5 separate regions of the Homo sapiens genome follow, and all the other regions are linked to region 1. The links are contacts of gene promoters, found by promoter capture Hi-C in blood cells and fetal thymus (Javierre and others, 2016). All regions are on one chromosome and are shown on one strand. Each heading gives the region's core, a stretch centred on a gene start or on the middle of the fragment in contact. The rest is flanking DNA. Distances are from core to core; before and after follow the strand shown.

Region 1 (6,182 bases), core at 1,230-3,729:
CTGACTGGTGCGTTTACAATCCCTGAGCTAGACACAAAAGTTCTCCTACTAGATTAGCTAGATACAGAGTGTCCATTGGTGTATTTACAAACCCTGAGCTAGACACAGAGTGCTGATTGGTGCATTTACAAACCTTGAGCTAGATACAGAGTGCCAATTGGTGCATTCACAATCCCTTAGCTAGACATAAAGATTCTCCAAGTCCCTGCCAGATTAACTAGATACAGAGTGCCCATTGGTGCATTCACAAACCCTGAGCTAGACACAGGGTGCTGATTGGTGTGTTTACAAACCTTGAGCTAGATACAGAGTGCTGATTGGTGTATTTACAATCCCTCAGCTAGACATAAAGATTCTCCAAGTCCCCACCAGACTCAGGAGCCCAGCTGGCTTCACCCAGTGGATCCCATACTGGGGCGGCAGGTGGAGCTACCTGCCAGTCCCCTACTGTGCGCCGGCACTCCTCAGCCCTTGGGCGGTCGATGGGACTGGGTGCTGTGGAGCAGGGGGCGGCGCTCCTCAGGGACGCTGGGCGCGCAGGAGCCCACGGCATGGAGGGGAGGCTCAGGCATGGTGGGCTGCAGGTCCCGAGCCCTGCCCCGTAGAGGGAGGCAGCTAAGGCCTGGCAAGAAATCCAGCACAGCAGCTGCTGGCCCAGGTGCTAAGCCCCTCACTGCCCGGGGCCAGCAGGCCAGCCGGCCCACCCAAGTGCGGGGCCGCAGAGCCCACGCCCACCTCGAACTCGCGCTGGCCCACAAGTGCCTTGCAGTCCCAGTTCCCGCCTGTGCCTCTCCCTGCATACCTCCCCACAAGCTGAGGGAGCCAGCTCCGGCCTTGGCCAGCCCAGACGGACTCCCACAGTGCAGCGGTGGGCTGAAAGGCTCCTCAAGCGCGGCCAGAGTGGGTGCCAAGGCCAAGAAGGCACCGAGAGTGAGCGAGGGCTGCCAGCACGCTGTCACCTCTCAGTCCAAGTTACCACTTCCGTCTTTTACACAGAGTACAAGTGCTCTATTCTGACCCCTTAAGGATTGCTCTTGCTAAGTCCATTTATCCCCGCCAAGTGGTTTTACTTCTGTCTCTTTTCCTGACCCTAGGCACATTTAGCATCAGGATACTCATCCATTTCTGAACTGTGTGTGAACAGCACACAAACCTATCACAATTTGTGAATGAGCATTGGAGAGGTGTAGGGGCCAAGGGAAAACTTTCCCTTCACCCTCCAAAGGTTTGCTGAAAATCACTGACAGAAAGAAGATTAACAGGAGAAAAGGCATAAAAACTTATTTGATTATAGTTTTACCTGACACAGGAGCCTTCAGAATGAAGACCCAAAGGTACAGGGGTGATTACCCATTTTTATACTTAGGTTCAACAAAGTATAGACAGCCATGTAGAAATACGATTGGACAAAATAGGCGATCTAATGCTAATAGACTGACCTGGCCTTGGCCAGTCTAGTTTAGATTCCTGGCCTCTCTGTGCAGCATTCCCTCCTCCTGGATATGGGATAGAACCTTCTCTAGAAGAGGAGTTTTATAACCTACAGTTGAGATGGGTCAAATAATTTATGGCCAGTTTTTACACAGAAAGGTGGAGGAAAGTTAGAGTAATGCTTTTGGGTTTTGTGTCTGGCTTCAGGGAAAGGGGGTTCCGGTTTCAATGACTCTTCTTAGGGAAGATGGGCTCCAGTTTCTATGACCTGCCTCCTAGAATGAGACTGAGAAGAGAGCAGGGCAGGAAGTCAGAGAAACACTGTTGCGTCTGAGGCCTTCACTTTGGGCTATCATTTTCTGAGCCTCAACAGAGGGAAAAACAAAAAAGGTAAGGAGGAACTGCAAAGGCAGAAAAAGAGGGTAATATAATAATAACTACCATTTTGTACTGAGCACCAGGCATCCTGCTGGGCGCATTACCTGGCTTCACTCATTTAATACAACCCTAAAGCTGGGCACTGTCTTTACAGATGAGAAAACCGAAGTTAAGAAGTGATTTGCCAGGTCACCCAGCTAGTATCTGGCAGAGCCAGGGTTCCTCCAGCTCAAAAGAAGAGCTCTAGGAGAAATACGAGGAAGAAAGGTTTTTAATTGTTGTTTTAAAGGGCCAGCATAGGCGCTGGAGAGGAAAGAAAGGCATATGCAAAGGGTGGAGAAACAAAAAGTGATGTTAAGTCAAGAGCCGAGGAGAGGGAACTGCAGGAGAAGCAAAGTGAAAAAAGGTTAAGAAACGCCTTGAGTACTGCGAGGACGTTAAGATCCAAACAGCACAAGAAGGAAGGTCAAAATCAGGTGTACGAGGCCCGTGTGCCCCGCCCCGCCCCAGGCGGACGGCTGACAGCGCCCCACCCCAGGAGGAGGCGGGACTTCCTCACCGCAGAGTGGCTGCTTCCGGTAGAATCCGGAAGCCTGTACGGAGAAGGGGCGGGGCCAAAACTGCGCGCCCAATCGGGGTGACGCTCTAGCCTTGCCGGGGACTCGTGGGTAACTTGCTTTTGGGAGCCAGCGGTATGGCGTCGGGCTGCAAGATTGGCCCGTCCATCCTCAACAGCGACCTGGCCAATTTAGGGGCCGAGTGCCTCCGGATGCTAGACTCTGGGGCCGATTATCTGCACCTGGACGTAATGGACGGGTAACTCCTCCGGGCTCCGGTCGGGCTTGCCGCGCGGCGGGGCGGATCAGTGCACCTTTATTGACTGCTTGTTGGATGTACCGCGTCCCTGTACCACCGAGCGCCTCACTCTGAACGCGATGCTAGAAGGGGTGTGGGGTAGGAGCCCTGGAGGCTCTAGCAGGAGCAGAACCGACGCGGTATCCTGGGTTGCGGCCGGGTCCCAAACCTCAGTTCCTCCCCTCCCCCCACGTAACGTGTGGTCTTCCATCACTTAGGACCCGGAAGCGACCTAAATCTTTAGGACATTTCTTCACTTTCAGCTAGAGAAACTGAGGCCCAAGGGGAGAAGCATGACTTGCCCAAGCTCATATAGCTAGTTAGTGGCAAAGCTGGGGAAACAGACTTCTCTAACGATTTAAGTTGGCACCTGCGGTTAGGTTCCCGAGTTCTGCCACTTGCTGGGTTACCTTGGACAAGCCACTAACCTCATTGAGCTTCAGTTTCATAATTTGAAAAATGGAACTACTAACAGAACCTACCGCTTAGGCATCTTGGAAGATGAAATGAGCGAGTACATGAGAAGTTTACAGTGCCTGGCGTATATTAAGTTCTCTATAATTGTTAATTACATCATTATTACAATTCTGATTTTCCTGTCTATTTTCTCTTCAGGCACCCTGCTCTTCAGGGAGGTCAGTTTTTTGTAAGTAATTTTTAAGCACCGTAGTTACAGCACATAATATTGTTTGGAGTCAGGATATTAGTTTCTGAAGTTGGTTACAGAATGAGGAAACAACCCCAGAGAAAGCAGTAAGACTCCCTCAAGATTACAGAAGATTGTGACAGACTTGCAACTTGGCTCTTCCTAGGTTTGCCAAGTAGTTCTCTGAGCCCCACTGTTAACTGACTATAAAAATCATAAATACCATTATCTTGAGTGGGGATGGAAAAATAAATTTATTTTAAATAGGTAAAAACCCTGTGTTCCCTCATTCAGTTTGCAAATTGGTGTTATTTTCTAAAGGTGATGATTTCCTTTTCTTTTTAATGTTAATCTGGCTTTGAAGAGTTTTATCTTCCATTGCTCTATGTGGTTAAATGTATTGTTTCTCTTTGGCATTTTACCCAGTTACCTTAGGAGTCCACCCAACTGATAATGACAAAACTTTGACCATAGAGTACTAAAAATAATAGGCCAAATGTGTAAAAAGTTTAGTAAATATTACCTCTCACAAAGGTTGGCTTTTAATTGGCCATTATATGTAATTATACTTATATACTTTATTTTTGACATCTTTGCTTGAAAGCCCTAAACTGTCACAGGTAATAATACCCTGAGTGTCTACCTCAAAGGTAAGTAGCTACATTTTTGTGCCTGAGAAAATACCTAGAGGGTCACAGGATGGAACAGCTATGTGTATATTTGTGAGTCTATTTGAGCAATTTGGTTTTAATTAAACTATGTTTGAGTAAGTTAATGGTTGGGGAAAGTAATTGTTTCGGTTCACCAGTCAGGATTATTAATGATAACCATAGTAGCAATGTTTATGAGCACTTGACTGTTTCTGTTCTGGAGTTTTTTTGTGAATTAACTCAAACAACCGTTTGAAATTGGTGGTGTTATTACCACCAGCATTTGACAGCGAGGAATTGGGCACAGAGAGGTTAAGTCATCTGCCAGTGGTCTCATAACTAGGAAATGGTGGAGCCAGGGTTGGAAGCAATGCAACAGCTTGTGTTGTCTCAAATGAAATGCTTTCTGTGGTTCCTAGGCTTACAGGGAATGACTAAGACATTGTTTGGCCTCAAAAAAGCAACTAATAATTTGTGTATTTATTTCTGTTAACTGTATACTTATTTTTGTTAACTTATTTCATGTCTCTCCTGCTACCCTATAAGCTTCCTGAAAGCCAAGTTTATCTTCTTTTTGCTCACCTATATATTCTTTGCTGGAAAAGCACCATAAGGTGCTTAGTTATTGTTGGCCGAATGAATGAATAGCTTAATCATAATAGGAGAAGTCTCTCAGAAGTCACTTTTGTCCCCTTGCAGCTCTATGGCAGACTGAGCTCAGTAAGGCAAAGTATTTACCATGGATCAGAGTTTTGGGAACAAAAAAATAAAAAATGAAGTATTTGTTTTTTATTGATTCCTCTTCCCCTTTGCCAGGAGATACTTTGGTTTGGAAAAACTGAATTCTGCATACACAATTTTAAAATTATTTCCCTTTTAATCTTCTCTACTTTCTGAGTTAAGAGCTGTTTCTATTCCCCTTTTGCAAAGGAGGAAACCAGTGTAGGGAGATTCAGCTTCTTCCCTGATGTCTCACCAGATTCAGCAGAGCCTGGCAGAGTTGGTGCCAGTGCCCCTACGTGATGTGCTGTGGTGTCTACTAGGCTAGGGCTATGAAAGTGGGCTGTGGACTCCTTTTTGAAATGTGGCCAGCCACAATGTCCCTTCCCTCCCAGGACTGCCTTCGTGTTTTTTTTTTCCTGGCCCCTTTTAAAAATCTCATCCAACATTACACTTTGGATGTGCTTATTGTTTTCTAGTCTCCTCCCCACTAAGACCTCCAATTTCTCCCCTGATTACAACTGAATTTCTTCATTTAGAAAGTCAGAAACCAGTCTGGGGAATACTGTGGAAGGTGGAGCACTAGCATGACTGGATATGTGAAACAAAGGACAAGTGGATTCTCTGGGGGAAAAAAACCCTAGAAAACACATAAATGCATCATGACAGGACAGTGACTAGAATGTGTTCATCCTAACCATGGGAACAGAGCAAAGAATTAATTTCTAAATTCGCTACCAGGATTTAAAACTGGGACGATTTCACATTAATACTGCATTTCTGACTTTTGGGGGAAAAAAAAAAACAGTTCAAAGACTTGCTAGCACTGGGCCCTCAGTCTTACCAGGTGACATGCGCTGGAGCTGACAGGGGCAGCCTCACCTTTAGTCATGTGGGGTGTACTTCATTTGGCCCCTTTCCCTATCTGCTCTGTTTTGCTCTTTGATGTTACCTAACTCTCAGCAGCATTGAGTTTGTGATTCCTGATTCACAGGAAGATTGTGTTCTAGTTACAGTCCTGTACCTTTTATAGCAACTCTAATCCTCCTCTTACCATCTTTGCCTTGTTGGGAGATAGGGTAAATGGCTTGATCTGTCTGCAGTAGATTGTGTTAGAATTACGTAAGTAAAGCTTAGGAGTGATGATGGAACATGAGAGAGAAAATTGTATCCTTGTATTACAAAAAATTATAGTGTAATTCCAGTAAGTCCCTGGAAGAAAGGGATACCTTTTTATTTTATTTTATTTCTTTCACACTTAACTAACTCCAGGAAATAACTTAAAGGAAAAAGAGGCAGAATAAGATAATGATGAAGCAGACTTTTTAGTGAAGTTTCTCTCTGTTAAGTGAAATAATTAAGTGTTTTCCAAGCTGGTCTGTTAACTCCCTCTGGCATTTGTTCAAAATTCAGATTCCCGGTCCTCTTTGGAGTCAGTAGGCTGAGGTAGAGACTGTAAATACATTAGAACTGCTCTCATGGTTACTGTTTGGCAAATTTGG
Region 2 (6,182 bases), core at 1,615-4,114, 1.7 Mb before region 1:
TGAAATGTTTATAAAAGCTACAGTTTGCTGCATCACTGAGGGTAGCATCATGGTGACAGCAAGTGCTACAGAGGAAAGTCAGTGGATGCTCTGAGTATAATAGGGTGCTCATTTATTTTATACTCCGCAGTTTTGGTTGTTTTTAAAATCTCCGTGCTTAAATAAGAGGTTTTTCTTAAGGTATTTGAACTGCGTAAGTTCTTTTTCAACTGTGTTAGTTTTCTCTTGCTCAGTGACAGATTATCCCAAACATAGTGGCCAAAACCACAAATTTATAGATAGATATATCTATATAGATATTTATAGACAGATACATCTATATAGATATATATAGATATAATACTTAGGATTATCCCTTACACCTAATAATCTTGTATAGATCTATATCTATCTATAGATCTATCTAGATATATATCAATCTATCTAGATATATCTATCTGTCTATCGATCTATCTATCTAGATAGATAGATATATCTATACCTAGATGCTTAATTCCAGGAAGCGAGCTACTATTTAGAATGCAATTCTCAAAGTGTGGTTCAAGGACTCCTGATAGTCCAAGACCTTTTCAGGGACTCTGCAAAAATTTTTTTTTTTGAGAGATGGAGTCTCACTCTGTCGTGCATGCTGGAGTGCAGTGGTGCGATCGCGGCTCACTGCAACCTCTGCCTTCCGAGTTCAAGCAATTCTCCTTCCTCAGCCTCTCGAGTAGCTGGGATTACAGGCGTGTGCCACCACACCCAGGTAATTTTTTGTATTTTTAGTAGAGATGGGGTTTCTCCATGTTGGCCAGACTGATCTTAAACTCCTGACCTCAGGTGATCCATCCACCTTGGCCTCCCGAAGTTTTGGGATTACAGGCGTAAGCCACCACACCTGGCTCATTTTTATTTTTTTTTTCGATTGCATATCTGTATGAAGCTAGATTTTCTTCATATACTTCAATCATAATGGTGTATCTCAACAGATTACATGCAGAAGCCAAATATGAATCTAGCTATTTTCTATTTAGCTAGACATTAAAGATATTTTTCAAAATGTAAAGCAGTGCTACTCTTTCACCAATTTTTTTTTTAAATTTTAGAAAATCGGTATGTTACGTGTTTAAATGTTACTTATATTAATGGGTTTATTATTTATAAATGAGTTCATGCACATTTAATAACTTTCTCTGTTTTAATTTCTAATAAGGTAAAAATTTCTAAGGTAAACAAAAGCTAATTAAAAATATTAAGGGGGTTTTTAGTAATTTTTTAACGGTATAAATGGGTCCTGAGACCAAAAAGTTTAAGATTCACTGGATTAAAAAATTTTTTGAATGTGATTTTCATGTTTTCCATAAGAACAAAGTATTTACTTCTCTACAGATAAGTGCGATGGATGCATCTCCACGGAATATTTCTCCAGGACTTCAGAATGGAGAAAAAGGTTGGTTCTTGAGTCTGGTGATCACTTGCCGTAGGATTTAAAGAAATTTCTTATTGTATAAGTTGTTTTAAACTGTTTGAGCAGTTTTTCCGATGCTGTTGTTCATAGACTTCTTTTCCTTCCTGTAGAGCACTTGTAATCCTATCAGATTAAGATTATCATATAGTGTATTGCAATAAGATAAATCAGGTTATAGAAATACATGAAATATAAAGAAGGCTGCTATTAGGGGAAGAAAAAACAGAAAAAAGTAAATTGAATTTTTTTTGCTTATTACAAAGTCAATCCCCAGGTTTCATTGCAAAAATCTTATAAAGTTTAATTTACATTTTTAATGTCACTAAAATATTGTCTAGACCTAAGATGTCTTTCACAGTATTTCATTGAATAACTTGGTGTCATCATAGAAACTTTGTGGGGAAATTTACATAGACTGTAGAACCAGGAGCTCAACTTACAATTCTTGGCATTTTTCTATTATAATTGCTTTTTCTCTCCCAGAATAAGCATGCCGTCTTTCTCAGAGTGTCCTAATTTCATTCTCTATTAAACTAAAAACTAATATTTAGGTAGGCATTGTGGTATAATGGATAGCGTGTTGGATAGGAGTCAGTCTTGGTTGACAGTTGCGGTACTGCTACCAGGATTTGATTGTAGTCAAGTCATATATAATCTTTCTGGATTTTTGTGTCCATTTCTATGACATGAGCTATATGACCTAGATGATTTTTAAAAAGTAAAAATTCTACCTTTTAGGAAGTAGGCATATGAATGAGCATTTAAAAAATATTAGGTAGACATGGACTTAATGTATGTAAATGACTCATTTAAGATTGTGTTTTTCTTTAGAGGATCGCTTCTTAACAACTTTGTCCAGCCAGAGCTCCACCAGTTCTACTCATCTCCAATTGCCTACGCCACCTGAAGTCATGTCTGAACAGTCAGTGGGAGGGCCCCCTGAGCTAGATACAGCCAGCAGTTCCGAAGGTAGAGGTTAAGTCACTTTTACCATATTTCATTGTATCTAAGACTGAAAGATATATCATTGATTTACATGAATTACAGCCATTTCTCTAAGGACAGATATTTGCTTCATAATAACAGATTCATGCCTTGCTTTCTGTTTAGGTGGTAACTACTTAAATTATAGTATAAACTTTGAAATTAACTTTAAAATTGCTATTTAACTCGGGTGTAATAGCCACAGTGCTTCAGAGATGTTTAAAAAAAACAAGTGTCCCTTGGAGTCCATGCTGTGTATGCTTCACTGTTGTTTCCTGTTTTATCCCATAGTGGTCTTTTCCCTTGATCAGAAATTTTAAACTGTTATTGGTATAGTATACATATGTCCATATTCCGAAAGGAAAAGAACCAAAGTCAGCAGTTTATACTTCTTATTCTCTGTGAATATTAATATATAAGTAGACTATTTTTCATTTTAGATGTGTTTGATGGGCATTTGCTGGGATCCACAGACAGCCAAGTGAAGGAAAAGTCAACCATGAAAGCCATCTTTGCAAATTTGCTTCCAGGAAATAGCTATAATCCTATTCCATTTCCTTTGTAAGTATTATTAAAACCAGTGGCTCTTAGCAGGGGGGTTATTTTTCCTTAGTTGCTCGCTTCATATTTAAATATATTTATCTGATGCATGATTTTTCAATCCTAAATTTTATTTCATTTTAGTAAAAGAGATGTCTTTTGATACAATGTAATTTGTAGAATATATAATCATTATGATATAGTAGATGAGTGGATAAAGCACTAGCCAGTGTTACTTATAAATGTTTGAATTACTTGTTCTGGAAACACTTGTTTGTTTATCTTTTTTCAAAGATATGTGGCTATATCCACTGATTTAATAATTATAAAAACATATTGCTGGTTATATATGAGGTTGGTAGTTGATTTGCTGGGACATGGCATTGTCCTAGCACTGATGATGAACTACAGTGACTTGTACAAGTTTTCATGTGATCTTTTTTTTATGGGGTGCACTCAAATTTGGAAAGAATATAGGCTGGCTGTGAAAGTTTATTTTTCTTCCACTGGTTGACCCATGTGGCTATCAAATGCTGCCCTTGTTATGGAACAAGTATATCCAAAAAGTGGACATTTTTGTTAATAAGGCCTTTTATTTTATTAACTGACTTACATATTTATTCAATCAGTATTTAAACTTTTATTTAGTGCCTGTTTAAGTGTCCTGTGATGTAGAATAAGATTTGTAAGGAACTGTCATCACTCTTAGGAGCTCATAATCTTTGGGAAGATACAGTTAGGGCTCACAGTACAGTATGTGATATGTTACATGACAGTAAAATATAAAAGGTCCCTTTTTTCTCTACTTTAGACCTGATTATATCAGTTTCTTGATTGGGCTTGGATCCCTCTTATGTTATGGTCTTTGTTCATGCTCTCACATTTATTTTTATTTTTTTAATTTTTATTATTTTTGAGACAGAGTCTCCCTCTGTCACCCAGGCTGGAATGTAGTGGTGTGATCTTGGCTCATTGCAACCTCTGCCTCCTAGATTCAAGTGATTCTCCTGCCTCAGCTTCCCAAGTAACTGGGACTGCAGGTGTGCGCCACCACACCTGGCTAATTTTCGTATTTTTAGTAGAGACGAGGTTTCACCATATTGGCCAGGCTGCTCTCGAACTCCTGACCTCAGGTGATCTGCCCACCTCTGTCTCCCAAAGTACTGAGCTACTGGACCCGGCCCTTTAAACTTTTTTTTTTAATATAGTTTTTTTCTTTTTGTTTGTTTCTCTTCTCTCTAAACCACTTTTTGTGAAACACAGTCTTTTTTAATCATTCAGTCCTGTTCTTTCTAAGAAGAATTTACTAGACCTTCCCCCTTACCTCCTGCTCCAGTCAGAGTAGGTTTCTATTATATGCTCTTATGATTCCTGTCTTGGTCCGTTCATGCTGCTCTGATGAATTACCATAGACTGAGTTGCTTGTAGACAGCAGAAATTTAATTCTTACAGTCCTGGAGGCTAGAAGTCTGAGATGAGGGTGCCAGCATGGTTGGGTTCTGGCAAGGGTCCTCTTTTGGGTTGTAGATTGCTGTTGTCTCTTTGTATTCTCATGTGGTGGAAGGAGGCTGAGAGAGCTGTGTCCAGTCTTTTTTATGAGGACACTAATCCCATTCAAGAGTATTCCACTCTCATGACCTAAATTACCCCCTAAAGGCCCTACCTCCTTATACCATAACATTGGGGGTTAGGATTTTAACATATGAATTTTGTGGGAGCTGGGAGGGTAAACATTCATTCTGTAGCAATTCCCTCATAGCACTTACCACAGAGATTATATTTATTTATTTATTGGATTATCTGTTTCTTTACCCCCACTACACTATAAACCCTATGGTGCCAATTTTTTTTTTCGCCATTGTATTGTTAACATCTTACACATGTAAGATCCTTAAAAATAGTTTTTCTTCATATTGTATCCTTGGCATGTTTGGTGTTCAGTAAGTAGCACCTAAATTAAAAATGACTGTGCCTAACAGTGCCTAGGTGAGTTAGGGTCGGAGTCAGGGGAGCAAAATTTAAGTTGAAATGGAGCTACACTGGGTTTTTTTGTGTGATAATAGTAAAGTGGTTGTGTTGCATTGTTTATTATTGAACTAGTAGTATGTCTTCTCCACAATTTCTAGAAGACTTTTTCTCTCTAGCTTGTAATGGAACAAAATATTTTAGACTTCTGCTGTTCATTTTAAATTCTTTTTGAGATTAGTGTGGCCAGAGTCTTGGCAGTATGGAAAGGTTTGTTTGGAGTGACTATTGCAGAACTCTCTGATTTGAAACCTAATTAATTCTGATAATTTTCTAATTGCCTTCAAAAACTTTCTCTTGAAATCTTTTTCTTTCCTAATGATTCAGGTTATCATATCTGCATACATTTTGGCTTTCTTAATTATATTCTTAACTCTAGAGTACTTAGTTAACTTATGTATTTTAAAAATTTGCATAGTGATCCAGATAAACACTACTTAATGTATGAACATGAACGAGTGCCCATTGCAGTCTGCGAGAAGGAACCCAGCTCCATCATTGCTTTTGCTCTCAGGTATTATTCATGGGACTTTGACTTATGATGATATCTATGTATTTTATGTATGTCTATTAATCCCTTATTTTTGGAATCTTTCACATAAAGCAAAATGATTAAATATAAGCAAAAATATATGTTCTTTAGTCGTGATAGCTTGTTCTTTTTTTTTTTTTTTTTTGAGACAGAATGTCACTCTGTTGCCCAGGCTGGAGTGCAGTGGTGCAATCTCGGCTCACTGCAACCTCTGCCTCCTGGGTTCAAGCAGTTCTCCTGCCTCAGCCTCCCGAGTAGCTGGGACTACAGACACACACCACCATGCCCAGCTAATTTTTGTATTTTTAGTAGAGATGGGGTTTCACCATAATGGTTGGGCTGGTCTTGAACTCCTGACCTCAGGTGATCCACCCACCTCGGCCTCCCAAAGTGCTGGAATTACAGGCGTGAGCCACCATGCCTGGCAGCTTGTTCTTTTTGTGCATAAAAATCTTCTCTGAACCCAAATAATGAAGTATAGGATGATTCCTAAGTAAGCTCCTAATAACTAAATTGACTTGGCAAGTTATTTACTGAGCCTTGAATCCTCTATCCATTCTGTTAAAATATGTTTTCCCTTGTATCCCTTCTCTCAGTTTACTTGTTGACATAGTACTTGGAGCATCCTGCCTTGTACAATCTGAATATCTTTTT
Region 3 (6,182 bases), core at 352-2,851, 1.6 Mb before region 1:
TTAAATTGTTCACATGTATTTCTTATCAGTTAAAATTTTAAAAGTGGATACTGATTCTTTTTTTTAGTTGTAAAAAATAAGTGGTTATCATTGATTTCATTGTCATTTCTAAAGTGACCAAACAATAATGAGAATTATATAGGTGGGGAAATATTGGGTGTAAATATGTGTTAAAATGTCAGAGGTTCTCAAAAAGATTTTTTAAAAAGCCAGATGTTCTGAATAAGAGATTGTCTTTAATTAACACTTGAGACTTCCAAGTTCTCTAAGCACTGTTAGCCTCATTTGTGCTCTTAGACATCGCTCATCTCTAGGCAGGAGCTAGTCTTTTTAAACAGAAACTCGTACCAGGTAGGACTTTGTCCCATGGCATGTGGCACAACAGATAACCTTTCCTGCCCACTCAGACTGCTTCTGCATGTGTATCTTTATGGCAGTTTATATGAAAGAACATGGTCAGTTGACTTCAGTTGCCCAATCAATTATATAACAGCTTTTTCCCCCTTTTCTCTTTCATAATCTCAGGTAAAATGCCAACAGTGGTGTCTCCGGAGTTGTACAGGACTAGGTTTTGTGAGGCAATGGACAAGTATTTCCTAATGGTACCAGACCACTGGACAGGCTTGGGTCTGAATTGCTGAAATCAAGCACATATTTTGAAATGGACTGTGAAGGAAAAGGGGACAGGAACAAAGGACCAAAAATAAGCTACATGTTTTATTTCTTCATCGTGTTCACCACTGTATGCCAAGGCTTTTCAGTTCTGTGGCTGTTTAGACTGTCCGTAATGGAATGGTAAAACTCCATGAATTTGCACTTTGGTTTTTGATACCTGTGGAGCTGTCTGTAGGTTGGGAAGTGGCATGAAAATTTTCTTAAGCTAAAATACAGACATGTTTCAAAGGGCTAAAGTTGGAGATGAGTAGATAGGGTGAAAAATGGGTTAAATTTGCTAGCTTAATTGTTTTAAGAAGAAAACAGTGTCTCATAAATTGACTATCCTGGCATCACATTTAACATGTTATCTACTTAGAAAGCATTTGTAGAGCTGCTGAATTTGTTTTGTGTTTTTCTGTAATAATTTAATGTTACTTATTATCAGAATTTCTGAAACCTTTACAAAAATTCTGATTTATTCCATTAATGGCCGGTTAAACACGTGGGCATTTATTGTTTTATTGAGGAATTTGACTTAAACTGGGAATCCTGTCATGTTGTTTATCTTTCCAGCTTGCCTGTTTTTGAGTATGTTTGATGTTTTTAAAATTTTGTCTTCTCTGTGGAAGACAGGAGGCTACAGCAATTAACTTTAAGCCTCCTTTTAGAGATATTTTTAAAACTTGTTTAAAATTTTTGTGCAATTCATATATTAAATTGCACTTACTTGCATACGCTCATATTCTAGGGTTTTTTCTCTATTTTTAGGGTATCATAGTAAATCATTAGTAAATGAGTCTGTAGTTACTAAACCCTAATGGAATAATTATTAATGAAAGATTTTTGAAATATAAAAAATAAATTAGGCCCAATCCAAGAAATTGAGTGAGAAGGAAACACTTGTTTTATTCACAGAGGTAAAGTGTCTTTTCAATATAACCAGCAATTTAGGTGGCATCTATAAAATAAAAAATTTCTACTGTGGACATCCCCTTTTCCAACTTTCTACATAATGGCTAGTTCTGACTACTAAGAAATGTTAAGAAATAGGCCAAGTGCGGTGGCTCACGCCTATAATCCTATCACTTTGGGAGGCCTAGGCAGGCAGATCACCTGAGGTCAGGAGTTCAAGACCAGCCTGGCCAACATGACGAAACCCCATCTCTACTAAAAAGACAAAAAATTAGCTGGGCATGGTGGCATATACCTGTAACCCCAACTACTTGGGTGGCTGAGGCAGGAGAATTGTTTGAACCTGGGAGGCGGAGGCTGCAGTGAGCTGGGATTACACCATTGCATTCCAGCCTGGGCAACAGAGCAAGACTGTCTCAAAAAACAAAACGAAACAAAAAAAGAAAGTTATTCTTAGTAAGGAACTTCTTGTTTAATAGCATTTTTGTTTATTTTAAAAAGTGATCAGAAGTAGTAAACTATCTTTGAGGAAATACTGTAACCCCAGAATATTTCCTCTTGACTTCTTTTTGTAACAAGGATAATTTAGGGATTTATAAAGTTGTAAGGATTTCACTGTTTTTGGACTGCCTATAATAATAGCACATTAACCTTCACATAATAAGAAATCTGGACAAGTTCAGTTACACAGTATGATGAATACTTGAATTAGGAACATTGTGGAAAATTTGCTTTAGAGAATCAAGGCAGTAGTTTGGTATTTGGTGCTTATTAAAAATGTGGTTTGTTTTGAACTGGAAGCAAGTTGACCAAGGACTTATGACTAATGTGATGCTAAGTTCCACTTGGCCCCTTTTAAAAACGTGTATGTGCCTTTTGAAGATACACAAAACACTGAGGATTTTAGTTTTGAAATCAAAGACTATTAAAGGAGCTGTACAGAGGTAAAAAAATAAATGTGGAACATTATTAACTTACTTTGTGTCTAGGAACAATGGATTTTGTATCTGATTTAAAATGCCAACACTGTTTTGTCTCTGTTCATTTTTTCTGTGAGGATACTTAAGGTTATTATTCCTGTCTGTTTCCTGTACTCCCCTAGTCATGAGCACTTGAAGTACAAGGTGTCTCCCCCTAGGTGCAATTAGGTTGTTTCTTTGTTTTTAGTTTCAATTCTATGTGCATAGCAGGAATGCTCCACAGGAATGGCTTCTGACAATAATCTGTCCTGTTGATTTTGTTTTCCTTGCCCATGACTTGAACAACTGTGTTTTAAAGTACTGTAGTCTAGTAGGTAACTTTGTGGCAAAAATTTTCAATATAATACATTCTGAAACAATAGTTGCTGCCTTGCAAAGGTAATCTCTCATTTTAAAATTGGACAGTATTAATGAAGGGGAAATATACAATTTATTTCTATTGAGTGGTAGAACTATATGTCTGGTCCCTTGCTGCTCTTGTTTAGGCCACTATCATAGATATATTTCAAATATTGTACTACTCAGTGTTAAGTATTGAATGACTGTTTCCCTTTCCTTCAAGGCCTAGAGTATATTCTGAAAATTTAGGAATGAGGAAGAAATCTTAATACTTCCTTCCTTAACATACAACATGAGTCCCGAGAATAATTGATAGTAGCAAGAGAAAACTATGTCAGTAACATGTTGCTTTGTATAAAAATCTTATTTATAAATGTGAAGCTTTTTGATGCCATCAAAACTTATTAAAAAATAGGATTTACTTTTTTCTAATTCTGACCTAAGAAAAATAATGAGAACAAGCTGTTGCAAGCTCTTTTGTAGTCTATTGAATATTTTATAGATATTCAAAATTTCCTACAAACTATAATTTTTTCCATGATTTAGCAGTGAGTGATTTTCTAGCTTTGGCTCTTATTAGGTATTGTAAATAGTAGGGTTATATCGATATCAGCTTTTGTGATGGCATTGTGGTCATCAGCTTCATGACATTTTACCCATTTGCAGTGATCCTGTGTAAAACTGCCAAGGAAAGTAATTACCTGTAGGAGTTTGCTGAGCTTGAAGAGTGAAAACTGTTGTGAATGAGCCTGATCATAAAACGGACCAGGCCATTCATTATTCCTCAAGTGTTAATATACTGACTTATGCAGTATTCAAACCATCTAGTGCAATGTTTTTGTTTTTGTTTTTTTTTTGGTAACACAGGTGCAGTGTATTATAGAAAAAATAAAAACTACAATCATTAGCAGTTTTAATACTGCTGTGTCAGTTTTGTAAAAAATGTACATTATGTCTTTTGACATGTTGAATTTTAAACTAGGGAAATGACATTGTAAATCATAGTAGCCTCTTTTAATTTAATATGAAAAATGCCACTATATTGAAAGTACTTAATGTATTGTATATATTTCTCTACTTTGGTTCTAGCTATTTTATATGATTGACATGTTATTTAAAAGATAACTGCCTTGAACTTTTGGAGACTTGTACTGTAAATAAAGAAATCTTAACAATAAACTCAGAATCTACTTACTCCACTTAGTTTTGAATCTGCTTGAAGAAATTGACAACAAAAGGAAATGGAGTTTGTCCTGCAAGCCTAGTCTTTGTGTTACTGGTGGAGGGTGTCCAGGTTCTTGGCGTTTTGAACAAAGAATTGGACAAAACACAAAAAGCAAGGAAAGAATGAAGCAACAAAAGCAGAGATTTATTGAAAACGAAAGTACATTCCACAGAGTAGGAGCCCAGGAGCACTGGGGCACAACAGCTCCCGTTACAGAACTTTCTGGGGTTTAAATACCCTCTAGGGATTTACCATTGGTTAGTTGGTGTACACCCTGTGTAAATTAATTAGTGGCCTGCAATCAGTGTGATTGGTTGCAGAAAGCAACCCATCAGGCTGAAGTGAAGTTACAAAGGTTAAACCCTATGCAAGTGTCGTTGTGGAAAACAACCAGTCAGAGGCCGAAGTTACAAAGGTTACACCCTATGCAAGCATCTCATTGGTTGTGGAAAGCAACCAATCAGAGGCTGAAGTGAAGTTACAAAGTTACACTCCTATGCCAATGTCTGGTTGCAGAAAGCAGCCAATCAGAGATGCTTTCAATTTTCCGTCTGCCATGCAGAAAAGGGAAGAGGGTGCTTGCAAACGGAGTATTCCAGTCCTTTTGTTACTTAGATGTAGAAAGTTGGGGTTTTCCTTTTGATTTAGTTCTAGAAAGTCAGTGTGAATCGGCCTTAGGTTCCCTGCCTCCAGACTATTCTGCCTCACCTGGCCTAGCAGTGTCGCTTTCTGTTCATTCTGTTCATTCTCTTCCTGGTTGTTTAACCACTGGAGAATCCGTAACTTAAGGTAAACCCACAGTTCATTTCAGCCAATACTGGGCAAGCAGCATTCCCCTTCTTTCTTCTGATAGGGCACTAAAGGAAGTCCTGCCCTCTTCCATTTGCGATTGGCTGAATTTGTGGGTGGGCAGGGCTCTCCGCTGCCAGTGCCTCCGTGCTCCGAGGGACCACAGGTCCACTACGTGAGGGGAGGCTTCCCTCCCACAGGAACTCACACCTGTGGGCAGGAAGCCGGGAGGCCCGCCCCCTGCCTGGGTTCCTGCAGGGGAAGGCGAGGGTGGCTGGATAGAGCGTACCCTGAGAGGTGGTTGGGCAGGAGGCTGGGCTGGTGGCCAGCTGCGCAGGGAGACCGGGAGGTGGCAGATCTGCGGGGCGCCCAGTCACTTCCTCCACGTTCTCGTGCTGGGCGGGAGGAGCGGATGGGGCTTGGGAGGCAGCCTGCTCTCCAGTCCCTATCCACCCACAGGTTTTTTGGGTCGGAGAGGAATTATCTGATAAAATTCCTGGGTTAATATTTTTAAAAACGGAGAGTTTTTAAAAATGATTTTTTTCCCTCGAAAATGACCTTTTTATGCTTCGAAGCAGTTTGTCACCAGCATAGTGCTTTTTCTTTTCTCTTCTTTTTCTACGATAAATGAAAGCATTTCTTCAAGAAAAAGGCACAGGTTCCTTGAACAGGTAAGAAGAGCGCCCCACTTGTTCTCCCGCCTTCTGCGTGAGCAGCCCCTACGGGGTCTCCTACTGGTCCCTAGGAACTTTCGCCACACCCGGAGCGGCGGCCTCCCCGAGCCCCTCGGGGCCCCTTCCCTGGCAGCTGGGATGAGGGCAGCGTGCTCCTCGCAGGTTACTTGGTCCTGAGGTCCTCCCTCAGGCGCTGGGCATGCCTGGGGCGCAGAACCGCAGCTCTGGGCCAGACCCGGCTGAGACTGTGCTTGTGCGGCGAGTGGAGGCCGCTCCCGGGGCCCTGCCGCCCTCTCGCTCGCTCGGGGCTCTGGAGTCTGGCGGGCCGCAAGCCGCGCTGCCGGCTCTACCTGGCTTTGTCCATCCAGCCACCCACCAAGCGCCAGGGTAAAACAGCACCCGGAAGCAGTCGTCGCCTGCTGCCACCAGGCTGCCTTCTGTGGTGAAGGTGGGGGCCAGGGTTGCAAGGCCCTCCTCTTGTTGGCATCAGCCAGGCACGCAGTGCTGTCGTGGCTGACCCAGGCCGTGAGGCACCCGCTGACTGAGAAGCCAACCTGAGCACCCAGCCGCACCTACCGCTGGCCTCAGACATCAGCACCCCAAAGG
Region 4 (6,182 bases), core at 1,834-4,333, 1.6 Mb before region 1:
TTGAAATCTAATAGCCTAAATGCACATCGATTACTGTTTAGAATTCAAACGACATTTATTTATTTACTTTGAGATGGAGTTTCATTCTTGTCGCCCAGCTGGAGTACAATGGCATGATCTTGGCTCACTGCAACCTCCACCTCCCAGGTTCAAGCGATTCTCCTGCCTCAGCCTCCTGAGTAGCTGGGATTACAGGCACCCTCAACCACGCCTGGCTAAGTTTTGTATTTTTTTTAGTAGAGATGGGGTTTCGCCATCTTGGCCAGGCTGGTCTCGAACTCCTGACCTCAGGTGATCTGCCTGCCTCAGCCCCACAAAGTGCTGGGATTACAAGCGTGAGCCACCACGCCCGGCCCAAATGACATTTATTTTTAAAAGCAACTAAACCAGGAAAGACCTTCACTCATTCAATCAAAAAACATGCATTGAACACGTATTCTTGGCTAGATCCGGTGCTGCAAAGATGAAAGACGCCACTCCTAGCCTCAAGGAGCTTGCAGTTTAGTGGTGGCACTGGATGTAAAATAATCATAAGATGTGAGGTGAAGACTGATGAGGTCTATTTTGTTGACACAGGTAAACATTCTCAGAGAATATTTAATTAGCAACATGACAAAAATTAGTTGATTTATTTGAAGGATATTTAAGTGAATTTAGAGATGAGATTTGTTTTTACTTTTTTAATTTCAGAGAGTTATGTTGGTTGCAAAAATCTTTGTTTTCTAGTATCTATTTTATAAGCCATCTGAGACCAGGATGTTTTCTTTTTAACATGTAAACTTGATGCAGTCTCTTTGTAAAGTAATGAATCCCCCCGTGAACCTCAAGGAGAAGAAAGTTTAGCTTGAACACTTAATTTCAAGTACCTTGAGAAGGGAACAGGCTGTATTGCTCAGAGAAGAAGGCTCTATTAGCTAAGGTAGAAGGACAATGTAAAACTCTTGTGAAGACACCTAAATGTCATTCCACTCAAAGCCCATTATTAATAATTTGAAACTGTCTGCTCTGTGAAGGCAACGACCTATCTTTACTCATTTTTGACTCTGCTAACATTTCTTTTTATAGTTGAACTAGAGGCAAGGCAAGGAACTTGACATGCTTGTTTTCCCTTTAGAATAAAGTGGCCAGAAGCAGTTTCTTCTGTGTGATCCAACACTTTCTTATCCCCAGAGCAACTCTGCATAGTCTAGATGTACCAGAGCCCAGCAGCCTGTGAGGTGATGTGATGTGATGTGATGTGAACAGAAAGGCTCCATGTTGGATGATGCCTATGAATCTAATCAGATTCTCTTTCTTGGTCATTTTGATTTCCAGAGAAGGCAGTAGAAGCAGGTTCTGTGTGTATAACCAGAGACTAGAGGGAGGAACTGACAGGGAAGCTGGGTCATGAGAGTGGTGTGCTCAGCAGAGTAGGGAGTAAGAGAGAGCTGGCTCCAGAGAGGATGACAAAATGCCCATGTCTCCAGCACTTCTTTAGCATTCTGAGTTCCCATCCTATCATGAATAGGAAGAGTTTTCTAGCTCTCCATGAAGCCGAAATAGGTTTCAGACTTTCCTTTCTTTCCCACACACATAATAAATACCCATCAGGTAACCTGGGCATGGCCTTTTATTTAGGCACTAACAATTCTAAAAGGAATTAATAAATGCTTCACTGCCATTTCACAGTGTAACAGCATGCCAGTTTACCATACCATTAACATTTAGCCTCGTGGTATTTCTGTGTTTTTTCAGTCAGTAATGATGGCATTTTTGCCAAGATAATATAGTGTTAAACTGTATTGGTTGAAATCCTAGGCTTTTTAAATGTAAACTAGCACTTTACAAAGTATTACAAAGGAAACGAACCAGGGAAACTTGAGAAGGAACTTTCTTATCCACATTGTTATAGGTTATAAAATAGTTCCTATTTAAATTAAAATACCTACTGTTGCACTTTTATGTGTGTTTTTATATATAAATAACATCTGGGTTGGCAAATATGTGATTTTCGTCAAATAGGCTTTGATTGAAGATGAAATATTTTTGTAAAACTAGTCCTTTTTTAAAGTTAAAATTTTATGTTACCACATGAATTGATCAGCAGAAATTTATTTACATTATGTAAATTGATTTTTAAGAGTATCCACAAGGTTTTAGCTATTATTTTTGAACTTGCTTCCTAGCCCACACAATTAAGTAATAAGAGTAAGAAAAAAGAAAGCACACATCCAAATCATCTATCAAAACCCAGCTTCTACCCAATGACACATCATTTTATTTCTTGATCTTGTAATGTTGAGCACATGCCTTGGACATATTCCTATATGTGGGCTCTATTCTCTGCAGCACGTCACTCCCTCTTTTATCCGCCCCTCTTATGTGCTCCCACTCCTATCCTCTTCAATTAAAAATGCCTCTTTCTTTTTTTTTTAAGTTAATTAATTAATTAATTTTTTTTTATTGATCATTCTTGGGTGTTTCTCGCAGAGGGGGATTTGGCAGGGTCATAGGATAATAGTGGAGGGAAGGTCAGCAGATAAACAAGTGAACAAAGGTCTCTGGTTTTCCTAGGCAGAGGACCCTGCGGGCTTCCACAGTATTTGTGTCCCTGGGTACTTGAGATTAGGGAGTGGTGATGACTCTTAACGAGTCTGCTGCCTTCAAGCATCTGTTTAACAAAGCACATCTTGCATGGCCCTTAATCCATTTAACCCTGAGTGGACACAGCACATGTTTCAGAGAGCACAGGGTTGGGGGTAAGGTCATAGATCAACAGCATCCCAAGGCACAGGAATTTTTCTTAGTACAGAACAAAATGAAGTCTCCCATGTCTACTTCTTTCTACACAGACACAGCAACAATCTGATTTCTCTATCCTTTCCCCACCTTTCCCCCTTTCCTATTCCACAAAAACCGCCATCGTCATCATGGCCCGTTCTCAATGAGCTGTTGGGTACACCTCCCAGACGGGGTGGTGGCCGGGCAGAGGGGCTCCTCACTTCCCAGAAGGGGCGGCCGGGCAGAGGTGCCCCCCACCTCCCGGATGGGGCGGCGGCTGGGTGGAGGCGGGCCCCCACCTCCCTCCCAGACGGGGCGGCTGGCCGGGCGGGGGCTGACCCCCCACCTGCCTCTGGGACGGGGCGGCTGGCCGGGCGGGGGCTGACCCCCCACCTGCCTCCGGGACAGGGTGGCTGCTGGGCAGAGGGGCTCCTCACTTCTCAGACGGGGCAGCTGCCGGGCGGAGGGGCTCCTCACTTCTCAGACGGGGTGGCCGGGCAGAGACGCTCCTCACCTCCCAGACGGGGTCGCGGCTGGGCAGAGGCGCTCCTCACATCCCAGACGGGGCGGCGGGGCAGAGGCGCTTCCCGCATCTCAGACGATGGGCGGCCGGGCAGAGACGCTCCTCACTTCCTAGACGTGATGGTGGCCGGGAAGAGGCGCTCCTCACTTCCCAGACTGGGCAGCCAGGCAGAGGGGCTCCTCACATCCCAGACGATGGGCGGCCAGGCAGAGACGCTCCTCACTTCCCAGACGGGGTGGCGGCCAGGCAGAGGCTGCAATCTCGGCACTTTGGGAGGCCAAGGCAGGCTGCTGGGAGGTGGAGGTTGTAGCTAGCCGAGATCACGCCACTGCACTCCAGCCTGGGCAACATTGAGCACTGAGTGAACCAGACTCCGTCTGCAATCCCGGCACCTCGGGAGGCCGAGGCTGGCGGATCACTCGCGGTTAGGAGCTGGAGACCAGCCCGGCCAACACAGCGAAACCCTGTCTCCACCAAAAAAATACGAAAACCAGTCAGGCGTGGCGGCGCGCACCTGCAATCCCAGGCACTCGGCAGGCTGAGGCAGGAGAATCAGGCAGGGAGGTTGCAGTGAGCCGCGATGGCAGCAGTACAGTCCAGCTTTGGCTCGGCATCAGAGGGATACCGTGGAAAGAGAGGGAGAGGGAGACTGTGGGGAGAGGGAGAGGGAGAGAAAAATGCCTCTTTCAATATGTAAGGTAAGATTGATAGATGATTGCCTTCCGTAGTTCCTCCCAAAATTCATAGGTTGAAATCTTAGCCCTCAGAGTGGTGGTATTAGGAAGTATGGAGCCTTTGGGAGATAATTAGCTCAGGAGGGTGGAGCCCTCCCGAATAAATTTAATGCCTTTATAAGCAAGACCCCAGAGAGCCCTTTCACCCTTTTCTACCCTATGAGGACACAGCGAGAAGACAGCTGTCTGTGAACCAGGAAGCAGGCCCTCACTACATACCGAATCTACAAGCAACTTGATCTCAGACTTCCCAGTCTCCTGAACTGCGAGATATAAATGTTTGCTGTTTAAGTCACCCAGTCTAAGGTATTTTTGTTATAGCAGCCTGAATGGACTCAGGCGGTAGGCAAGAGGAGGACAGTGCACCTGAGTTATACATTGGGCAAGTCATTTACCTTCATTGGAGCCTCGGTTTACTTGTGTTAGATATGGGAATAATGATAGTTACACTGCAGGGTGGTTGTGAAGATTAGAGAAAGTGCATATACTCTGATCAGCACAGTGCATGGTACTTCAGTACACAGTGTTAACTGAAGACACAGTGTTAACTGAAGACACAGTTGAAAACTAAAGATAGCTAGTGAAACACATGTTCTCTGCACATCATACAGTTTCTTGGGCAGTTTTCAAAGTGTGACTCTGCAGTTCATACCACCATTATCACTTAGTCTCTAACAAATAATCATATTTGACACATTTGGCTGGGACTTAATAATTTTATTTGGGCAGCAGCTGGTTTCTGGAAGTGTTCATGGGAAGAAAATGTATATTAATAAAGTTAGCAGGTAATGTTCTTTGTTGAAATGTTGGATATTGTGGGACACAAAAGAGTCAGGGTAAATGTACATTTACAGAATTGAGCGTCAGAGTGTCATAGTTCTCTAATGATTTACAAAGAAAGAATTCCTGGAACAAGTGAAATACTTAATAATTAATTCAGCCTGTATTTCTGCAGGTAATCAACTGCAGTGATAAAAAAATAAAAATGGAACTGTCTTTTGCTCATTGGAAAGATATTTGCTGCATTCAAAGTCATCAAAAAGGCGAAGCAATGAAACTTAAGACTTTTGGGTTTTAATAATTAAAAATCCATCTTAAAGAGAACCTTGGGCTCTGGCACGGTGGCTCATTCTTGTAATCCTAGCACTTTCGGAGGCCCAGGTGGGCGGATCACTTGAGGTCAGGAGTTTGAGACCAGCCTGGTTAACATGGTGAAACCCCATCTCTACTAAAAATACAAAAATTAGCTGGGTGTGGTGGTGTGCGCCTGTAATCCCAGCTACTTGGGAGGCTGAGGCACGAGAATCACTTGAACCTGGGAGATGGAGGTTGCAGTGAGCCAAGATTGTGCCACTGCATTCCAGCCTGGGTGACACAGTGAGACTCTGTCTTGAAAAAAAAAAAAAGAGAGAGAGACCGTTTGTGAAGGTGTGTTACACAGAGAATTCCTGATTCCTAATCTCCAGAATAGAAAAATTCAAAGGCTCAGAATCATCCCAAATCAATTATCCAGTGGCATCTGCATTTTCCGATTTCATTCTCACTAGCCGTGTGAACATGGGCATGACCCCAGGAGCCAAGGAATTCTCTAATGCCTAAGGACAGCCATGAGGTCAATGAATAACATGTGTCAGGTTTCCCTGGCACAGAGGAGCTTCCCAGTAAATGTTATTTTCCTTAGCTATTTCCCATTTAACATGTCAATTATTCTTAGTGAGTTTCCATTCAATATGAGAGTTTATATAATTTGTCATATTGAATAGGAACTTGCTAAGGAAAGCTGTGTAGCAGAGGAAGCAGCCCCAAGTGACAGGACATAAACTTTAAATTCACAAGATGCTTGTATGTGAATTATGATGGTATCTGAATTAACAGTGATATTTACAGTTTAGTAATACATTTTTCTTCCCTTGTCTTGGGCTTTATAAAAACCCTGTAAGTCATGTATGTCAGGAATTTTATCCTCATAATTGAGAGAAAAATACTCCATATTTTATTGGAAATAAGATCAGTAGATTCTCTGTATATCATACAATGTCTTGCCTACTTAAATTATCACCCCCCTTCCTATTTCAACAAAGACTTTCTCTAAGTACCCCTGGCCTCTTGCCCTGATCCATACTGTTCTCCTTGGTAATGGAGTGAGTTTCCTGCCTGGTGGGTGC
Region 5 (6,182 bases), core at 929-3,428, 1.5 Mb before region 1:
TGGACTCACATGTCATGCTAAAGCACATTGGAATTTTCCTTAAAATTGTGATGAGACATCAAAATATTTTAAGCAGGTTAGTAAGTGGGTCAGATTTGGGTTTTAAAAAGAAAACTCTAGAGGTGTTATGATGGATGGAGAAGATGAACTAGCTTGGAGACGCAAATGTCTAAGAGAGGTACTATTCACCTTTAAGTGCATAGTCCTGTTTGATTGATTCTGACATCTGTATGAGAGACTGTACTCTTGATGCAACCTTCTAAGAAAGAGACAGGAATTAAAGAGTTTTATTAAAATGGTAACAACTGTAAATAACTGTCAGCTGCTGATGTGAGTAATGGAAGGAGATCAGTGCTGCAGCAGCTGGTGAGCTTGGGCAGCAAGCGTGATGGCAATCCATGGTTTTTGCTATTTGATGAGAGTTAGTCCCACATATTCCATTCATTTAAATCCATTTCTTTGGAGATGCTGTAAAGTCTCAAAATATTTTCCTTTATAATGAGTTGATTCATCTTAGCTGAATTAAAATGTGAAAATGCAACAAGGAGAACTTTTTTTTAAAGAACCAAGAAAAGGTAAATATTGTCATAAAATGTAAATGTATAACTAATTTAATGACATATCTTTTATATTTGAATAATAGAAATTTCTTCCAGGGTCACCTTTCTTATAGTACATACATCTAAGCTATGCTTACAGAATAGGAGTAATAAAAGAGAAAATCCTAAACTCAGTGTTTAAAGCAACCCTTAACTGGCATTAAAAAAACAAACACACCATAAAACCTATTAGGGAATTAGGGTCTGGCACTCATTGAGACTTTAGAATTCATATGCTTATTTTTTGCAGTAGTTCAGGCAGTAGTTCCTTTTCTGGCAACTCCATAAAAATAATTCATAGAATCAAAGAATGTTCAAGTTGGGAAGCATTTTGGGGATATCTTGTCCAATGTTTATCTGACAACATTATTGCAGAGATTTTGACCTTTAAATAACCCTCCAGAGAACTAACGTAACTGACACCTTGTGGTTTGCATTAGAGATGTTGATGGGTATTAGGAATATATGGGGCAGTGGAGATTCTTTCTTTTTCAGGTCACTTTTTATTGGCATATATTTACTTACTTTTAGATGTTTGTTTCATCATGCCTCACATCATCATTGTGTATCCAAGCTAAGAACTAATCTTTCTGGTCAATAAACAGTTTGTGGTGTTTATCATGGGTTTGCTCATTGTATCAGTAATGATCAAATTTGAATATTGAATGACATTGAATGACTAAGCAAGTAGGTGACTCCTGAGGAAGCTGCATACTACATAGAGTGCATTAAATACTGAGCTAAATTTTTTTTAAATAAATGTTTTGTTTTGCATACCTGTCCCAAGGTATCTTAGGGAGCTCTGGCAGAAGGAATAAGATGGTATTTCTAGTAAAGGCCTTTAGGAAATATTTTAGGTGATAAGTTTAAAAAATATTATATCTAGTGCACTTTTCAAAATATGAAAAGAAAGGGACAAACAAGGTACATGCTTCTCAGCTGCTCTTGGGTGAGTGATTCATTTTCTCCCAGTTGCAGGGAGAGGTGCAGTCACCAAAAACAAGGGTTGACTAGGAAGGAAGGAATTTTAAGAAAAATGGATAAAATTTAATCTCTGATCATTGACACAATTATAAATACCAAATTGATTTTTCCCCCAGAGAAAAATCTCCCCTTCAGAACTCCTTTTCTTTTCTAAGTCAGTTAGAAATATAACTTTAAATGAAATTAAAGCTCTAACATTTGCCATAGAAACTGTCTCCAAGTTATAAATTGAATTCCAACTGATTAGAAATGAACTATATATTTTGTCTTTATATTTGTGATACAGATAATCAAATTATAGTATTTGATAGAGATCAGGGAGTTTATTACCTGTTATGTAAAAGTTCAGCATTTAGTACCAATATGCAAATAAACAAAGCAAAAAAGTTCTTATGTTTGTGATATTGAAAAATAAGCCAATACATGGGGTGAGCAGATATGATGTATTTAGAGTGTCTCTGAGGGAAACTAACACATAGCATCTCTCTTGGCTGCCCTGATTCTAAACATGTTAAGATATAAAGTAAGGGAGTGAGGGAGAACCTTATTGCTGCGGGAGGCTGGGGTGGATGATGTGACCCTAGCTCAGTTAGACAAGTGGATCCACTGAAGAACCCCATAATTAGTCAGGATCTTCCCACCTGGGCACAGGATGCTGAAGGGTAGGCTCCTATCCCTGGAGACGCTGCAGAGAAAGTCTGCTCACTGCAAGTTACCTTTTCTATGCCTAAATTTTGACTTCTTTAAATGATTACATCTTTTGCGAGTTATGCCTAGAAGTGAAAATTCTACATTGAAGGGGGATGTGCTGATTTACCTCAGTATAAGTAGTGTTTAGAGCACGCATATCTCATTTGCCTATTTATTCACTCTCATTGGACAAATCTTGATTAAACACCAAGAACATTGCAGGCCCTGTGTGAGGCAATGGAGAGGAGAGAGTAGAGGAGAAGATAGACATGAATTTCTTCTCCCACAGCTAAAGTTTAGTGAGTGAGACTAACATTTAAACATGAAAAATGCTTCTGAGAATAAGTGACATTCAGCCTGAACCCTGAGAACTTGGCTAGGAAGGGCGAATGAGTGGAGAGAGTAAACGATCCAGGCAAAGAAAACTCCAGGAACCAAGTCTCAGAGACAGGACAGCCTGAGCAGCCGGCACTTCCATGGCTGAAATGTTTTCTTTGTTTTAGTTCATCTGTGGTTCACTCTGAACAAATCTTTACTTTTATTTAAATCATTAATTGCAGACTACATATTGGGTACAGTGTACACTGCTCAGGTGATGTGTACACTAAAATCTCAGGAATCACCACTAAAGAACTTAGCATGTAACAAAAAAAAACCCCTCTACCCCAAAACTATTGGAATTAAAAAAATGAATCTTTAATTGCAAAATAATTTGATTTCTATATTTGCATTATTTTAAAACCATATTTACAAAAAATTCATTCTATGTGTTATTGGCTTTAATGTTTATTAAAGGTCATGTTATTCTAAGCCATCTCTCTTTTTTTAAATTTCTTTGCTTTGTTTTGTCTGTAGTTTGCTTCAAGCAAAATTTTTCCTACATGAAGTTTACATGAAATACACAAGAACCTTTTAATGATTTTTTTCTTAGAATTATGTCTTAATTTAAAAAAATTACTACTAGTACTAGCACTACTACTAGTACTAGCACTACTACTAGTACTAGCACTACTACTAGTAGTACTAGCACTACTACTAGTACTAGTACTACTAGCACTACTACTAGTACTAGTACTACTACTACTAAAATCTCACCAGAAACTTCCTCTTTGTCTTATTCTCTTTTATTTCTTTTGCCTGGTATAAAATGTCACCTTCCCATTTGCAGACTCAAGTCTTCCTTTAGTGCAAGATTTTTCTTCTGTTATGTTTTTATTGATTTATTCTATTGTTATCTTTTCTTCAGAAAAAGAAGTAATCTGCCACATCCTCCAGATAGGCATCTTATACCTCATATACCTCCTCACAGCTGTCTTTGTTCTTCTTCTTTTCTTTTTTTAGTGGCTTAAAAGAACATGCGTTTGTTCTCTTACAGTTCTGGAAGTCAGAAGTCCTAAAATCAATGTGTCAGCAGGGCTGCCTTCCTTCTGGAGGTGCTGGGGGGAGTCCTTATCCTTTTCAGCTTCTAGAGGCCACTGGCATTGCATGACTCTTGGTCCCTTCCTCCATCATCAAAGCCAAAAGTGTAGCGATTTCCACTCTTATATCCCTGGCCACATCCTCACTCGAACACCCTTTCTCAAACTCTCAAGTCTTTGTTCTTTTTCCCTCCCTTTCGGAGGATTCTTCAGGTGTCTCCTAAATTGCTGAATTCATTTTCTTGCTTTGTCAGATCTACTGTTTTTTGTTCTAATAGTGATTTTAAAATTTGGTTATATTTTAGATTCCTTATAATCTTTTGTTAATCAATCCTGCTCTTAAATTTCTGTCTCCATCTCAGTCTACTATTAACTCAACTCTATTTTATGGACACCATAGTGCAGTGGTTAAGGGTGTACAGTGTGGATCCAGGCCGCATGGGCTGCATTAAGGCCCTGCCGCTTGCTAGCTGTGTGGCTGGGCAAAATATGTGGAATCTGTGCCTCAGGTTCCTCATCTGTGAAATGGGGACAAGAAAATGCCTGTCTCATAGAGCTGCTGTGAGACTAAGAGTCAATTCATTTACCATAGTTAGTAGTCAATAACTTAGTTTCTGATTAACCCATAGTCTATATTTTTCTAAATTATTCAGAATAATTATTTAGAATTTCATCCAGCTGTTCTCGCATGTATCAATATGTGTGTATATATGTCATGTGTGTATTTTGTTACTTATCTTTTAAGGCATCAAGTTTTACTTGGTCTTAATATTTTAAAATTCTTAATTCTTTCCATAGTCAATTTGGTTGGCCTTGAACGTATCTTCTCAGTTATTAAATGGGTGGACTCATCGGCATGTATTTCCTTTAACCAATTTTTCTGGGGGTGGGGGGTGCAGATTTATTTAGTGTAGTCTACTAAAGGACAGAGTGCTTGGTCCTGGGTCTTTTAATAAGGTGAAGCTTAAGGTTGGCCCATCAGAAGCCATCTATACTTCTTCCTTTTCCGGGATAAGGTGTGACAAATGGCAATCCAGCTGGTATTGCCCCACAGCTCTTCCAGCTTCAGCTCCTAGCACTTAGTCCTTCACCCAGCAGTTCCATGCATCACTCCCCAATATCTTCACCTCAGCTACATCGTATTGCCGGTGACTGTTGTCTTAGAGAGACAGGAATTAATGGGGCATGAAATAAATCTTGTCATTCAGAAAGTAGCACTCACGTGCTTCTTTCTCAGTGACCTGAGCAGTACTCAAGTAGCTTTTCACCTTCTTATTAAAACAAAATCTATCTGTGAGCTGCGAGTTGTAGTGGGTGAAGATGGAAATCCTCAACTCTCATGTTTTGCATCTTTTTGTCCTCCTGAACAGAAGGTATCAGATGGTGGTTAAGGATTCACAATACAGACTCACATAGACCTGGTTCAAATTCTAGCCGATTGGTGGATATTCCAGGTTAAAGCAGTTAATCTCTTTGAGCTAAAGTTTCTTCATCCATAACAAATGGATGTAAAAAAATAAAAGTGTCTCCTCCATGTTCATGTAAGGTTTTAAATTAGAAAATGTTTAATAAATGGCAGCTATTATCGGCCTGGAAACATCCCTTTCCTTTCATCAGCTCACAGCACAACTTTGATTTTCCCCCATGTGTGGGGCTCAAGACCTAGCCCTCAGTTCTTGTAGAAAGTTGTGATTGTTGAGAGGTGCTCACAGGGTTGTCAGTGGTCGGATAGCAGTGAGTTTGGTGGGGTGTTCAGGGCTGATACAGTCAGTCAGCTGAATTTGGGACTGAGGTGCACAAATCCTCTGATAACCAAAATTCTCTAACTTCTAGAAATGATTGAGGATTCTGCCAGACAAGTTATCCCCAGGACTGCAGGACTTGATGGCTTTCTCTTCTGCCCCTGCTCTGGCAGGGACAAGTGCCTACTGTTGGCAATCTACATTTCCATTATTCCTAAGCACTAGCACTTTCTGGAAAGCAGACATCTCCCTGAATGGAGGGACCCAGAGTTTCAGGCCTCCATCCCCTTATGACCCCAGACCTGGAGACATGTTCTTCATCTTCATCTGGAATGTCTTCACTGATCCTTGAGGTCCTCAGACAGAAAGGGGCTTATTCCTTCAACACTCCCCTCCCTCCCCTTTTAAAAGCCAGAACTTGATTATCTCTAATGGTATTCACACTTATAACATTCAAAAAATCAATCTCATTGACTACACTGGGAGCCTTTTCTTATGTAACATCTTACTTCCCTTTAAAAAAAAACACACACTTCATATCACCTTCACCCAATACTTTTCATACATCATAGACAGAGTGAATCCCCAAAATAGCTCTATTATTCCTCTCTCTAAAGTAGAGAAGTAGCTGAGAATTCATTTTAAAGAGGACAGTTGATTACATTTATATAATAACTATTACCCTTTGTCCTGCCACTTTGCCAAAGGGCTTCATCTAAACTTCAGTTTAGAAAGCTCCTGTGGATCCC

What was found. Contacts are between HindIII fragments. The CHiCAGO score rates a contact against its expected background, and 5 or more counts as called.
Region 2: a fragment that was not itself captured here is called in contact with the fragment with the promoter of RPE in region 1 in 2 of 17 cell types (M0 macrophages and monocytes); the score reaches 9.1 in M0 macrophages.
Region 3: a contact is called between a fragment that was not itself captured here and the fragment with the promoter of RPE in region 1, in 12 of 17 cell types (M0 macrophages, M1 macrophages, M2 macrophages and 9 more). The highest score is 20.0, in M0 macrophages.
Region 4: a fragment that was not itself captured here is called in contact with the fragment with the promoter of RPE in region 1 in 5 of 17 cell types (M0 macrophages, M2 macrophages, M1 macrophages and 2 more); the score reaches 21.8 in M0 macrophages.
Region 5: a fragment that was not itself captured here is called in contact with the fragment with the promoter of RPE in region 1 in 1 of 17 cell types (M0 macrophages); the score reaches 7.0 in M0 macrophages.

The regions. Positions count from the first base shown.
Region 1 is chr2:210,000,159-210,006,340 of GRCh38, forward strand. RPE (ribulose-5-phosphate-3-epimerase) reads left to right here and starts at 2,480. Exons shown (of 6, transcript NM_199229.3): 1 at 2,480-2,625. The coding sequence starts at 2,504. RefSeq lists enhancers at 2,489-2,538, 2,579-2,748. The HindIII fragment of the contact is 5,690 bases long and covers 1-4,504 here.
Region 2 is chr2:208,337,140-208,343,321 of GRCh38, forward strand. PIKFYVE (phosphoinositide kinase, FYVE-type zinc finger containing) reads left to right here. Exons shown (of 42, transcript NM_015040.4): 29 at 1,369-1,429; 30 at 2,279-2,416; 31 at 2,872-2,992; 32 at 5,415-5,510. Among named protein-coding and RNA genes, the nearest start is that of PTH2R, 67 kb to the right of the region's middle. The HindIII fragment of the contact is 7,637 bases long and covers 1-6,182 here.
Region 3 is chr2:208,354,665-208,360,846 of GRCh38, forward strand. PIKFYVE (phosphoinositide kinase, FYVE-type zinc finger containing) reads left to right here. Exons shown (of 42, transcript NM_015040.4): 42 at 526-4,082. The coding sequence ends at 641. It also overlaps a transcript of PTH2R not described here and the pseudogene ARPC1BP1. Among named protein-coding and RNA genes, the nearest start is that of PTH2R, 49 kb to the right of the region's middle. The HindIII fragment of the contact is 3,331 bases long and covers 1-3,267 here.
Region 4 is chr2:208,374,451-208,380,632 of GRCh38, forward strand. It overlaps a transcript of PTH2R not described here. Among named protein-coding and RNA genes, the nearest start is that of PTH2R, 29 kb to the right of the region's middle. RefSeq lists an enhancer at 2,361-3,161. The HindIII fragment of the contact is 7,209 bases long and covers 1-6,182 here.
Region 5 is chr2:208,474,653-208,480,834 of GRCh38, forward strand. The region is part of intron 9 of PTH2R (parathyroid hormone 2 receptor); the gene reads left to right. Among named protein-coding and RNA genes, the nearest start is that of PTH2R, 71 kb to the left of the region's middle. The HindIII fragment of the contact is 4,948 bases long and covers 1-4,652 here.